2 separate regions of the Homo sapiens genome follow, and region 2 is linked to region 1. The links are contacts of gene promoters, found by promoter capture Hi-C in blood cells and fetal thymus (Javierre and others, 2016). All regions are on one chromosome and are shown on one strand. The core of a region is centred on a gene start or on the middle of the fragment in contact, and the rest is flanking DNA. Distances in the headings are between cores, read along the strand shown. Region 1 holds the start of TRIM24 (tripartite motif containing 24). Region 2 has its middle 4.5 kb from the start of MRPS33.

Evidence for each region. The method cuts DNA at HindIII sites, captures the fragments that hold promoters and counts their contacts. A CHiCAGO score of 5 or more calls a contact.
Region 2: a contact is called between a fragment that was not itself captured here and the fragment with the promoter of TRIM24 in region 1, in 1 of 17 cell types (total B cells). The highest score is 6.5, in total B cells.

What each region holds. Positions count from the first base shown.
Region 1 is chr7:138,454,862-138,462,303 of GRCh38, reverse strand. It overlaps TRIM24 (tripartite motif containing 24), which reads right to left and starts at 2,045. Exons shown (of 19, transcript NM_015905.3): 1 at 1,392-2,045. The coding sequence starts at 1,755. RefSeq lists silencers at 1,174-1,653, 1,684-1,933, 1,994-2,383 and enhancers at 1,894-2,676, 3,080-3,590. The HindIII fragment of the contact is 2,319 bases long and covers 1,014-3,332 here.
Region 2 is chr7:141,015,705-141,023,146 of GRCh38, reverse strand. No RefSeq gene overlaps it. Among named protein-coding and RNA genes, the nearest start is that of MRPS33, 4.5 kb to the right of the region's middle. The HindIII fragment of the contact is 3,243 bases long and covers 2,261-5,503 here.

The sequences.
Region 1 (7,442 bases), core at 796-3,295:
ATTGGACAACGTAAAGAGAGCCAGTTGACATCTACACAGGCAGTTCCTTCTCTACAGGAGAGGAACCCTAAGCTTAGGGAACCCTAATCTTTTAAGATGGGCAGTAAGCATGCCTACCCTTTCGCTCCAGAGGGAGACGTTATTCTTATTATACTGGATAATATGTATCCCCGCCTTTTGCTCTGGTGGAAGACACTATCTCTATCTTCCAAGGCTGCTCTTTAGATAATATCCGTGAAAAAATAGAAACAAAGGGCAGTCAGTATCTCGCTGGCAAGGGTGCTGGCAAGAGTGAAGAAACGGAGACCCACGGAAAACTGTCTCCTACAAGTGGATACTGCTCCTAACATGCAGTCAAATAAATGAGTCTCAGCCCACAATCTATTTGAAGTATCCATTTCATACGCCCCTTGACCTAGCATAATTACTTAATTAGCATTTTATTTCAAACTAAATCAACTATTTCCTCTAAAAAGTATTAAAAATGCTTTTCCAGTTACACTGTATTTTTAAAAAGGAGGTGCTCAAATATTTGCAATAATAAAATTTAAAAACCGCCAAGTGTTCTACCCGAAACTGTACTCAAACTTACTTTAAATGTTTCAAACCTGTCAAAGTTAGCAATGGAACACCTGTCAAAAGTCTAATTTTACAGTAATAAACACCACAAAGAGAACAGTAACTTCCAGCTTTATCTATAAAATACCAGAAAACCCAAATCACTTTGTATTATTTCTCTTCGCCGTCTCAAAATAAAACCTTTGAAAGAGACACACAACAAAACAACGTCTCTTGGTTCCTTTGTCCCCAGCAGAGGAGAGGGAAGAGAACTGGGAACTCATTAAGGTAAAGAGCCCCAAACATGCAAGATAAGAAATAAATGACATCCGATCTGCAATCAATCATCAAAGAAAGTCACCATCACTTCATCTTCATCCCTCCCTTCTCCCCTGCAGCTCAAATAACGTGAGTATAGACGAGATGATCAGGATCATATGGACCTGGACAAAGCTTTGTGGAGGCAGCGGGCGGGTAGCAGTTAACTGGCTGCAGCCGGCAAAGAACCCGAGATTCCGGCTGCAGGAGACTCCGACAGAGGTCTGCAAAAGTGCGAGTGGCAGGGGCCGCCCGGCTGTTGAGAATGCGGAGCAGCGGCGGCGGCGGCGGCGCGGTCAAGTCCACAGCGCCCGGGGAAGTTGCTGGCCGAGCGCGACACGCCGCAGAGCGCGGGCCCTCCATGTCACCGTCGCCAGCACAGACCCTCCTGCTCGCCCCTCCCCCGCCGCGCACCCCGGGCGGCGGCGACATGACAGCGGGTCGCGCCGCACAAGGGCGCCCGCCCCCTCCTGGCCCTCTCCCCGGGCTCCCCAGCGGCCGCGGCCGGTTCTCACCTTGGGTGGCGAACGGCGACGAGCCGCTGACCGGCGAGCCGGGGGCAGGGACGGGTGGCGGGGTCTCGGCCGAGCCCAGCATGGGCGCGGGCAGCATGAGGTAGCGCTGGGGCGCGGGCAGGCAGCGCTGGCAGAAAGAGTGCAGGCAGGGCAGCAGCTTGGGCGCCCGGCTCTGGATGTTCTGGTGGCACACGGCGCAAGTGTCCAACAGGTTGAGCCGGGCCGCCTCGCCGCCGCGCTCCGAGTCCGGGCCCTGCCGACTCTCGGCCTCGTTCTCCCCGCTCGGCGCCGCCGAGGGCCCCCCGGAGGCCGCAGCCGAGGCCGCTGCCGCCGCCGCCACCGCCTTCTCCACCGCCACCTCCATTGTCCTGCCCTTGCCGCCGCCGGGGAAGCGAGAGCGCGGTCTCCGCCCGCCGCCCCCGACGACCTCCTCCTCCTCCTGCGGCTGCTCCTCAGAGGCCGCTCGGTGGACTCGCGGCAGCGCCAGCGAGGGAGGGAAAGCAAACCGGGCGGGGGAAGCCTCCTCAGGCCCACGGGATCCGCCTCCCGAGTGGCGCGGCCGGAAGGAGGGTATCTGTCAGCGGAGACCGTTCCTCGCACCGGGGAGGCTGCACCCCGTCCGCTTCGCCAACCGCCGAGGCGCTCGTGGAATACGCCCAGCCCGCCCTTGCCTCCCCGCCTTTCTCTTCATCCCCCTGGCCCACCTCAGGCCCCGCCCCCGCCCCCGCCCTCCCTCTCCCAGCAACTGAGGCTTCGGTGTGGAGCGCGCCGCCCAATAGCGGCCGCGCCTGGCGAGGGGGCGGGACCTGTTGGAGCCCGCGAGGCTCCGTCGGCCGCGGCGGGAGGTTGGGAAGTGGGAGGTGCTTGCCCAGCCCCGCCCCCTCCGGACGCCTGAAATCGCGGCTTCTGATTGGGCCTTTGTGTATGTTTCCTCCTCTGAAAAGATTAAGGGTTCATTTGTTAACGACCATCCGCCTGATTCGGTCCGCGGTGTTAGCTCCTCCTAGGGGGCGGGACCTCACTTGTCTACTCAATGCCGTTAATTAAGTAACTGCTTGGAAAACTGATTTCATTACTGGAGACCTGGTCTTGTAGGAGGAGTAAATATGGTCGGAGGGTCACAGGAGGAAGGAGTGGAGGTACTGAAGAGCAAACAAGGAAATAATTTTTTAAAATACTGTGTGAAAGAGGTACTCTGGAGGCAGCAGGGATATTGCAACCTAATTTTACTCATCTCTAGAATGAATGAGTATGAAGAATAAGGGGGGGAAGTTCTCGTGCAAGTTGGAAATTTTTAAAGGGTTTCCCCAATGAAAAAGGTGAAATTAATTTTTAAAGTCAGTGATTTGCTTTTTAAGTGACTAAAAGTGGTTCGTTTTCCCAGGAATTAATACAGATTGACAAATGTTTTTATTGCATAAATATAGCATCATTAAGCAAAAATAAACCTCAATACTGTTACCCAAATAATTCATAACTTCAGGATTCTTTTGTATTTCCTCCCTCCCTCTTATTTTATTCCCTCCCTCCCTCCCTCACCTCTCTACGCTGATATCAGAAGTTACGCACATTTTTCACTCAAAAAATGGCGCAGCTTTTAAGGAACTTGAAGAATAGAAACGGAATGAAGGAAACAAGATTTTGTAACACGTAACTTTAAGAAGTATTTACCTTTTTTTTTTTTTTTTGTCAATACTAATGAAGCGGTACTGGACTTTAGAGAAAGATGGAGTGGGTCATGAAAGGCTTTGCTAAAATCACAGTTTTCCTGGAGGACTATATGGGATGGCAATGGGGGAGGGCTAGGCAACGTAGCCTTCCTTCAAGACCTTGCCCTTAAACACAACCTCCGTAGGCCTCAAGTGAGAGGTTCTTTTACTTAATCACAAGACATTCAACAGCTCTTCCCGCCTCCCCCACCCATTGGTTCCTGTTTAAGCTTGGGATTTTTTGTTTGTTTGTTTTTTTGCATGGAAGTAGCTCTTAAACCTTAGTTTGCATAAGAATAACTTGAGAAGCTTAGTGAAAAACAGGTGCTTGGGCCACCTCCGTATTCAGTTATTCAATTTTGATAGCATCTCAAGTGATTCTGACCTGGGTGGGTCCAGAAACGGAAGTCTGTCCCACAGGTCTTCACCCACTCACAAATCTCTCCACGATTTCGTCCGTATATGCCTCTCAAGCTGAAGTCGCCGCGACTCTCATGCTTCATGCTGCAGCAATTGTAAGGCCACCCTGCTTTGTACACGCTGTTCCCTTTGTTTTAGTTCCTTCAAAATTCTGACTTATCTGTTATCCCCTAAAGCCACCCCAAAGTTGAACACTCCTTCCCCAGAATTCAAACCATATTGTATATTTTTGAAGCTACACCTTGAAAACATTCACATAATAGGAATGGAATTTTGTATTCAAAAATCAACTCCCTTAATATGCTAAAAATTCATTACATAGGTGGTATACAGGATTCAAGCCTACTAAAGACAAGTCCCTCTTATTCCCCAGATGATGGTGGTAGGGAAGGAAAACTGAGAAGTAAAATTGAATAGGCTGGTTTTGAAAGAATTCCATGTAATTTGATCAAACCCACTAGCTTAAAGTTTTTCAAATCACCATGGTTTTACAGAAAATGATCTTCCATCGTTTTAGCCTTCCTAATTTCACATGAGTAAAACAATCGTACATTGTACTTTGTTCACATATATGGAACTTCAAGTCCAGAAAATGAATTTACTGTTTGTTTTTCTTAATCATATGATTTCTTTATTTGGATATTGTTGCCCTACAAAGCGTGTTCAAATATATTTCACAAAGATCCACACTACCAATAGATTACTCTTCCTTAATTACAGCTCTCATCCTATGTCCCTCCCTTATCCCATAATTTTCTGTGGCTCTCCACTGCATCCAAAGCTCTCCACAATTTTATTCCCATCTGATCTTCTTGTCTGATGTTACTGCTTTCCCATATCCATCCTGTGCTTCCGCCTAATTGGATGATGCGCTGTTTCTTGTTTCTTAACTGCACCACTACCACCACCTATGAGAGAGGAGATCAAAGCTGTCTGAACTGGAAGAGAAGGGCATCAGCAAGGAGAATAAAAGCATCAGATGCTGGCCGGGCGCAGTGGCTCATGCCTGTAATCCCAGCACTTTGGGAGGCCAAGGCAGGCGGATCAGCTGAGGTCAGGAGTTCAAGACCAGCTTGACCAACATGGAGAAACCCTGTCTCTACTAAAAACATTAAATTAGCCCGGCATGGTGTTGCATGCCTGTAATCCCAGCTACTCGGGAGACTGAGGCAGGAGAACTGCTTGAACCTGGGAGGCAGAGGTTGCAGTGAGCCAAGATCGTGCCATTGCACTCCAGCCTGGGCAACAAGAGCTAAACTCCGTCTCAAAAAAAAAAAAAAGCATTAGATGCTAGTAAGATTTCTCATCCCACCCCTCAAAAGGTGCTAGTGGGTGGAAATTCTATAACTTCCAGGGACACTTAAGAAAATCATTTTTCGGCCAGGCACAGTGGCTTGCTTAGGCCTGTGATCCCAGCACTTTGGGAGGCCGAGGCGGGCGGATCACGAGGTCAGGAGATCGAGACCATCCTGGCTAACACAGTGAAACCCCGTCTCTAATAAAAATACAAAAAATTAGCCGGGCATGGTGGTGGGCGCCTGCAGTCCCAGCTACTCAGGAGGCTGAGGCAGGAGAATGGCGTGAACCCGGGAGATGGAGCTTGCAGTGAGCCGAGATCGCACCGCTGCACTCCAGCCTGGGTGACAGGCAAGACTCCGTCTCAAAAAAAAAAAAAGGAAAAGAAAATCATTTTTCGGGACTGGGTGCGGTGGCTCACGCCTGTAATCCCAGCACTTTGGAATGCCAAGGTGGGCAGATCACCTGAGGTCAGGAGTTCGAGACCAGCCTGACCAACATGGAGAAACCCCATCTCTACCAAAAATACAAAATTATCTGGGCTTGGTGGCACATGCCTGTAATCCCAGCTACTCAGGAGGCTGAGGCAAGATAATCACTTGAACCCAGGAGGTAGAGGTTGCGGTGACCTGAGATCGCGCCATTGCACTCCAGCCTGGGCAACAAGAGTGAAACTCCATCTCAAAAAAAAAAAAGAAAGAAAAAAGAAAATCATTTTTCAGTAGAACTCTGATTGTGAGGCGTGTTTAGACATACAGGGTCTGAACTAACCCCTTCACCCAATTTCTTATAGATTTAGAGGAAGAAGGAAAAGATTCTCAGACTTCCAGAAGTAGCTGAGAGGTCTGGATGACTTGAGTCAGGATAAGGAGAATGCAATGAGTAGGCACCAAAGGCCATCTCAGACTATCTCAGTGGGGTCCATGGGGAGGCCCACAGTCAAAAGCCAATGGAAACCAAGCACAAGGGTGCACTGCTGTAGTCCTCACTTCTCAGGAAGCTGAGGTGGGAGGATCACTTGAGACCAGGAGTCTCAGGCCACAGTGCACTATAACCATGCCTGTGAATAGTCACTGCACTCCAGCCTGGGCAACATAGCGAGATTCAGTCTCTAAAAAAACGAAAACAAAACCTGTATTGTTAACCGGGTAGGGTGACCCGTGCCTGCAATACCCCCTACTCAGGAGGCAGAGGAGGGATGATCACTTGATCTCAGGAGTTTGAGGTCTGCCTTGGCCACATAGCAAGACCCAGTTTCTTAAAAACAACAACAGAAAATATTTGCAGATGTTTTATTATGGGGGGGGGGCGGGAATGGAGGCAAGTCACACTCTACATATGCCACGGTAAACCAAGAATGCCTCCCAAAACCTAATGTGTTTCCCCACATATGCCATGGCCCTCTTAAACCCTTGGACCTTCAAATCAGCGATAGATAAAAGGGAGAATGAATATGGTAGTGATTGAGTTTAGAACTTAAATGACCAAAACCACAACAAACAAAAGCAAATTATCTCAAATATGACTACATCAAATTTTCTACCATCAGGAAGATTAAAAATTTAGATAATTTTTAAAAAATTTTGTAGTCAACATAACACACTTCTTGGATGTGCAATAAAGGGTTAACTTAGCAAGCTTAGGTTACTCAAATGGTGCACATTCCAAAGAGAGGATTGACCCTTGACTCGCTCCTGGGGGGTTACTGCTGCCCTTTTGGAATATCCTGCCTGATAAGAGGAGAGCTTGAGAGTTTGGGCCATACTGTATTAATTTGACCAGAGAGTTTATGCTCGGGATGTGACCTATGGCTCACACCTGTTTTATATACGTGAGGCCCTTGGCCACTATATGTCAGTTTGATCTCTGGGAAGCTGGAAAGTGAGTAGCCAAGACCAGTCACATAGGTGCTGCATGCCTACAGGATCTCCAATAAAAAACCTGGAATCCAAGGCTTGGGTGCATTTCCCTGGTTGGCAAGACTTCATATGTCTTGTTACACATTATTGCTGGGAGAATGAAGCACTGTCTGTGGGGCTGTGCCGGAGGGAGCAACTGGAAGCTCGCTCCTGGCTTCTCCTGGACTTGGTCTATGCACCTTTTCCCTTTTGCTAATTCTAACATGTATCCTTTTTCTTTTTCTTTTTGAGACAGAGTCTTGCTCTGTTGCCCAGGCTTTAGTGCAGTGGCGCGATCTTGGCTCGCTGCAACCTCCCCCTCCCGAGTTCAAGCAATACTCCTGCCTCAGCCTCCAGAATAGCCGGGGCTACAGGCATGCACCACCACACCCGGCTAATTTTTGTATTTTTAATGGAGACAGGTTTTCTGCCATGTTGGCCAGGCTGGTCCTGAACTCCTGGCCTCAAGTGATTCACCTGCCTCGGCCTCCCAAAGTGCTGGGATTATAGGCATGAGCCACCGTGCCTGGCTTCAGGTACAGTTTATTACAGCAAAAGGATATAGATTAGGCCTGGCGCAGTGGTTCACGCCTGTAATCCCAGCACTTTGGGAGGCCAAAGAGGATGGATTACCTGAAGTCAGGAGTTCAAGACCAGCTTGGCCAAAATGGTAGAAACCTCATTTCTACTGAAAATACAAAAATTAGCCAGGTGTGGTGGCAGGCGCC
Region 2 (7,442 bases), core at 2,633-5,132, 2.6 Mb before region 1:
GACTTACCAAAAAATAAAAGAAAGAAAGAAAAAGAAAACTACAGATCAATATCCCTGATGAATATAGATGCAAAAATCTTCAACAAAATACTCGCTACTGAATCCAACAGCATATCAAAAAGATAATACACAATGATCAAGTGGGTTTCATATCAGGGATGCAGGGTTGGTTTAACATATGCAAGTCAATAAATTTGATATACCACATAAACAGAATTAAAAATAAAAATCATGTGATCATCTCAATAGATGCAGAAAAAGCATTTGACAAAATCCAGCATCCCCTTATGATTAAAACCCTCAGCAAAACTGGCACAGAAGGAACATATATTAAGGTAATAAAAGCCATCTATGACAAACCCACAGCTAACATTATACAGAATGGGGAAAAGTTGAAAGTATTCCCCCTAAGAACTGGCACAGGACAAGGATGTCCACTCTCACCACTTTTATTCAACATAGTACTGGGTCCTAGCCAGAGCAATCCGACAAGAGAAAGAAATAAAGGCCATCCAAATCAGTAAAGAGGAAGTCAAAGTGTTGCTGTTCACTGATGATATGATCATATATCTAGAAAACCCTAAAGACTCATCCAAAAAGCTCCTAGATCTGATTAATGAATTCAGTAAAGTTTCAGGATACAAAATCAATGTACACAAATAAGTAGCACTGCTATACACCAACAGCAACCAAGTTGAGAATCAAATCAAGAACTCAAGAGCTGTTTTACAACAGCTGCAAAAAATAAAATAAATTAAAATAAAATAAAATATTTAGGAATACAACTAACCAAGGAGGTGAAAGATCTCTACAAGGAAAACTACAAAACACTGCTGAAAGAAATCACAGACAACACAAACAAATGGAAATACATCCCATGCTCATGGATGGATAGAATCAATATTGTGAAAATGATCATACTGCCAAAAGCAATCTACAGATTGAATGCACTTCTCATCAAAATACCACAATCATTGTTCACAGAACTAGAAAAAAAATCCTAAAATTCATATGGAACAAAAAACAGCCCACATAGCTGAAGCAGGACTAAGCAAAAAGAACAAATCTGGAGGCATCACATTACCCAGCTTCAAACTATACTATTAATACAAGGCTATAATTCCCAAAACAGCATGGTACTGGTATAAAAAGAGGCACATGGACCAATGAAACAGAATAGAGAACCCAGAAATAAAGCCAAACACTTAACAGCCAACTGATCTTCAACAAAGCAAACAAAATTTCCACTGGGTATTTACCCAGAGGAAAATAATTCATTACATGAAAAAGATACTTGCATACGCATGTGTATAGCAGCACAATTTGCAATTGCAAAAATATGGAACCTGCCTAAATGCCCATCGATCAACGAGCAGGTAAAGAAAATGTGATATATATATCATAGAATACTACACAGCCATAAAAAGGAACAAAACAATGGCATTCACAGCAACCTGGATGGAGTTGGAGACTATTATCCTAAGTGAAGTAACTCAGGAAGAAAAGCCAAACATTATATGTTCTCACTTATAAGTGGAAGCTAAACTATGAGGACACAAAGGCATAAGAATGATATTATGACTCTGGAAACTCAGGGGGAAGGGCAGGAGTGGGGGTGAGGGATAAAAGACTACACACTGAGTACAGTGTACACCGCTCGAGTGATAGTTGCACCAAAATCTCAGAAATCACCACTAAAAAATTGATCCACGTAGGGCCGGGCGCAATGGCTCATGCCTGTAATCCCAGCACTTTGGGAGGCCAAGGCGGGTGGATCACAAGGCCAGGAGATCGAGACCATCCTGGCTAACACGGTGAAACCCCATCTCTAAAAATACAAAAAATTAGCCGGGTGTGGTGGCACGCACCTGTAGTCCCACCTACTCGGGAGGCTGAGGCAGGAGAATCACTTGGACTGGGGAGGCGGAGGTTGCAGTGAGCTAAGATTGCACCACTGCACTCCAGCCTGGGTGACAGAGTGAGACTGTGTCTCAAAAAAAAAAAAACATTCATGTAACCAAACACCACCTGTTCCCCACAAAACTACTGAACTGCAAAAAAAGGTCTCCCTGTGTTGCCTAGACTCTCGAACTTCTGAGCTCAAGAGATCCTTCCGCCTCAGCCTTTCAAAGTGCTAGGATTACAGGCATGAGCCACTGCACTTGGCCAGTTTACATCATTGCTTTTTCTCCTTGAAGTTATATTCTACTCCTCTCACAAAATGTTACTTTATCTTAATATGTTTTTATGCTTGAAAGCTTTTACTGACCATGTGTCATATTTTCCTGCAACAAAATATTTGTCAATTGAATTTTAACTTTTTTAACTTCTATGACTAAAAGTATGTGTTGAAAATATTTTTCCCTTTGGGTTATCATTACAACTTTTTGTACACAAATGATCAAAATGACTTAAATATATCATGAATTTTGATGAACACTTATAAACAAAAAACTTCTTAACATATCCCTTGATAGATGAAGTTTTCCCCATGTAGTTAATATAGTCAAATATGAATTTTTAATTGCTTGGAGGGGACAGCATCAATCCTATTACTATCTTCACTTAAATGGATGTAAGCATTGAGAAAATGTGTTCACATAAGTGGATGGAAATGGGAAAACCTGTGTTATAGCAGTATCACACAATTTTTTTAAACCATGGTAAAAAAAACACAGAACATAAAATTTACCATCTTAACCATCTTTAAGTGTATAGTACAGTAGTGTTGACTATATGCACATTGTTGAACAATAGGTCTCTAGAAAATTTTAATCTTGCAAAACTGCAACTGTGTATCCATGGAACAACTCCCCTTCCTCCCTCCCTCCACCCCCTGGCAACCACCATTCTACTTTCCATTTCTAAGAATTTGACCACTTTACATGCCTCATATAAGTGGAACCATGCAATATTTGTCTTTTAGTGACTGGCTTATTTCACTTAGCATAATGTCCTCAAGGTTCATCCATGTTTTAGCGTATGACAATATCACCCAATTATTTGAACTCTCTCTGAGTTATATGACAAAGGTACATAGAAATCTATCACAAAAATTATTTAATTATCTGTCAGCTAAAAACTTACCTAGTCCCTTCTTCTTTTTCTGAAAACAAAGAATTACTTTCAACCTGACTTTTAAGAGCATGTATTATACAGTCATTCGCTTTCACAATGTTTGGGAAACATACCAAAAAGGCAACACCAAGATTTGCAAAATCTATATTTGTTCTGTTTTCATTTAGAATCACCTTGTTTTATCCAGGAACAGTGGCTTACACCTGTAATCCCAACACTTTGGGAGGCCAAGCGGAGAAGGATCACCTGAGTCCAGGAGTTCGAGTCAAGTCTAGGCAACATAGCAAGACCCAGTCTCTACAAAAACTTTAAACAGTAGTCAGGCATGGTGGCTCATACCTGTAGTCTCACCTATTCCAGAGGCTGAGGTGGGAGGATCTTTGAGCCCATCAAGGGGTTAGTAAAATGGATATATTGTTAATTTTGATACAAAATATCTTTTATAAAATGATTTATATCATCATGCACTTTATACATTTTTGCCAAACCTTGGAGCTGTAGATATGGCTTATTCAATTTATAGAAAACACCCATCAGCCACATAATCTAATTAGTAAAGTTAATCCTCATTGTCAAACCAATCATCTAGGTCAGATTTACTTTCCAACCTCATTTTTAACTAAATGTATTAGAATATGTATTCTTAGTTTTTTTAAACTAGGAAATTATCAAATACATCTCATAATCTCAATTATTAAAAGCAGCCAAGATTAAAATGATATCAAAACTATTAGAATTGGTTTATCCATTTTTATAATAAGCCATAAAACCAAGAATAAATCTATATGGTTTTTCTCATTACTTATTTCCTAATAATAAAACATAATGTGTGAGATGAATGTTATTTATGAATTAGAGTATAACAGACAATATTCCTTCAGTATGTCTGTGTGTATATTGAACTTTGGTTTTCAGCTTTTAGGAATAACTGAAGAAGAATAATATATAAATATTCTAGAATAGCTCTAAACAATTTTTTGGAAATCATAATCAAAATGTTTCCTATATATTTAATGAAGAATAAAAGAATATGCTATTTAAAAAGTAATCAGCCTAGAAGCTAAAGCATAATTTTATTTTTGTTAATAAGAGGCAGAAAGAAAGTCAGGATTGAAGTATTTCTCTATTTCATAATAGAATTTGATAAAAATAAGTGTATCAGACAAGATAGGCTAGGTCATGCTCCAATAACAAACAACAAATTTGTATGACTTAAAACAGAGGCATGTGAATTAAAACAACAACGGCTCATTTCTAACAAAAGCTATATTTCCAATATGGCTGGTGGAATAGGATCAGCCCTTCATAACAACTCAGGAGCACAGGCTGACAGTGCAACAACTCTCTGTCTCAGAAGGGAAGGAGAGCTCTGGAGTTTCATCAGGGTAAATAACCACCTTAATCGGAAGGTGACGCTTCACATCTGCTCATAACTCATTGGCCAGAAAAAGTCCTAACCATGATCCTAACCAATCTCAGAATTCCCATGAAATACAATCTAGCCAAAGTGGAAGGAAATGGAAAAGATTTGGTGAACTGTATCAGTGATTATCACAATACATTTTCACATTCATTGAACAACACACACCAAATCTAAAATAAAATTATGTATGACTTTTGCACAGTTTATTCCAGTGCAATGTGAAAAATATGAAGGTACCTGAAAATGATCTGTATGATATTTATAATGATCAGTGTCACGGCCAGGGGCGATGGCTCCCATCTGTAATCCCAGCACTTTGGAAGATGGAGGCAGGTGGATCACCTAAGGTCAGGAGTTTAAGACCAGCCTGGCCAACATGGCAAAATTCTGTCTCTACTAAAAATACAAAAATTAGCTGGGCGTGGTGGCAGGTGTCTGTAATCCCAGCTATTCAGGAGGCTGAGGCACAAGAATTGCTTGGACCCAGGAGACGAAGGTTGCAGTGAGCCGAGATCATGCCACTGCACTCCAGCCTGGGCAACAGAGTGAGACTCTCTCCAAAAAAAAAAAAAAAAAAAAAATCTGTCACAAAGCTCTACTACTTCAGCTGTTCAGAGTTGCTTTTCTTTCCAGATAATGCTATATCCTATGGAGAAGTACTGAGAATAGCTGAAAAGAATTGCTTAGGTTTAAATATACGGGAAAAAAAATTGGCTTCGATACTTTCTTCAGTGCTGCTTTGCTCTGCTCTTACCAGATTCTCCTTCAAAAACACTGCACTTTTCAACAGAGGATGGAAGACATCTGATGGTTAAAGGAAAATTACTGTCACTCTTACCACTAACATTCACACAGTATATCTGATTTCAGAAAATCACAACAAACCAATTACCATATTTCTGACAGCCGTACTTCACCCTTAAGTGGAATATATGTAAGATAGGAAAAGACATGAAGCCTAAGAAGGGTTGATGGTGCCTTGATTGATCATTAGAGGAAGCTTCCTCCAAAACATTTTGAATCTTCCTTTCATCTGTCATCCTGGAAGGTATATCCCTCACACCTTCAGTGATGGATATACCTTTCTTTTGTAAGGTCCAAGAACTACTGTAAATGCAGATGTAAAAAAGAACCTACATGATGCTAAGAAAGAATACTTATGAAAATACGGTATCTGTAAATTGATTTACTTAAAGCAATAAATATTCCCCTGCCCCTTGGACTATGCCACACCATAAGAACTTTAAGTTGATGTAGCTTTAATTCTTGCCCTGCCTAATGACAAAGAACATTTGCCAAAGAGTATGATGAATAATGAAATCACTTAAAGTGGAGGCTTTCCATTTTACCACAACCTACAGCAAGAAATATATTTATATTATGATCCAATGCACATATACATATTGTTTCATGAAACAATAATTACCCCTACTACATGTGATGCATTTAGATATTTTTTATCCTAATGTCTTTCTTTTAATGCTGGTCTCTATTCACTAAATTGATTTCACAGCCAACTAATGATTCACAGCACACAATTGGAAAACACAGGACTACAGAAAATAGAAATATATAAGGAAATATCTGATTTATAGAGCAATCTCTGATTATAAAAAGTGCTCTTAAAACTGCATTATCTTGGCGGTGTAAATGGGTAAGCCAAGGTCTGGTGAAGTCAATATCCATAGGAGGTTCAATTTTATTCTATTCATTTCATTTTTCCATCCCTAATATTCCAACTTTCCTATTGATAAGTAACAGTCTCTGATTGGCCAATTTCAATGGCTTACTCCTTCTAATCCTGTGGTAGGCTAAAACTGTTCCCCAAAGATAACAGAGTCTAATCCCTGGGACCTGCAAATGTTACCAGATACGGGGAAAAGGCCTTTGAAGATGTGACTAAATTAAGGATCTTCAGATTGAGAGAGTATTTTGGATTAGCTCCATGGGCCTTAAATGCAATTACACATTCCTAAAAGGGAGGCAATGGGAAGTCTGACACACATAGTGAAGGCAATGTGAAAAGGGAGCAGAGATGTGAAGATGTTGGCCTTGAAGTCTAAAGTGATGTGGCCACAAGCCAATGAATGCCAGCAGCCACCAGAAGCTGGAAGAGTCAAAGAACTGATTCTCCCCTAGAGTCTCTGGAGGGAACACAGCCCTGTCAACATCTTGATTTTGGCCCAGTGATGCTGATTTTGAATTTATGGCCTCTAGAACTGTAAGATAATAAATTTCAGTTGCTCTACAACACCAAGTTTGTGGTATTTTATTATAGCAGCCTCAGGAAACTAATATGAACCCCCATGAAATTGACTTAATAAAAGTGATAGTGCAAAGTACCTAAACAGTCACCTGAAACTCTATATACCTAGCTATGTTTCAAGAAAGATTTATGGTAGCTTATAGTAATTCACAAAACATTGATAACACCAATAATTCATACGTGAAAAGGAAAAAACAGGAAGGATATACAAAACGAAGCCAACAAGGTTTATGCAAAAAATATATATATGTGTGTGTATATATATATATACACACACATATATATAGCTCTTGCCTCGAGCCAATTAAAATTTGGCTTTAAACCAGCAGCTTACACGTAAAGGAAGTCTTCTTGTTTATATGATTCAGTGGCCATTACATAAAAACAAGCCAACTCCACAGAAACAAGTACAAAAGACAAGACGAAATTTCTCCCAGGAGTTTCGCTCCTTAGGACTTCTTTTCTGGACTGTAGCCATGTATAGGATACTCATTACCCCTTTGTAAACTTAAATGTAGTCACTAGACCCAACTTTATAAGGCTGTTTACTATATCATATAAGGCTGATAACATGTCAAAACTTAACTTGATAAAAGCAAATCCTATAGCATAGATTGATTAGACGTCAAATTCTAACTTAAAAGTAAATTCTGTAGGAGGAAAGAGGGTGTAAAT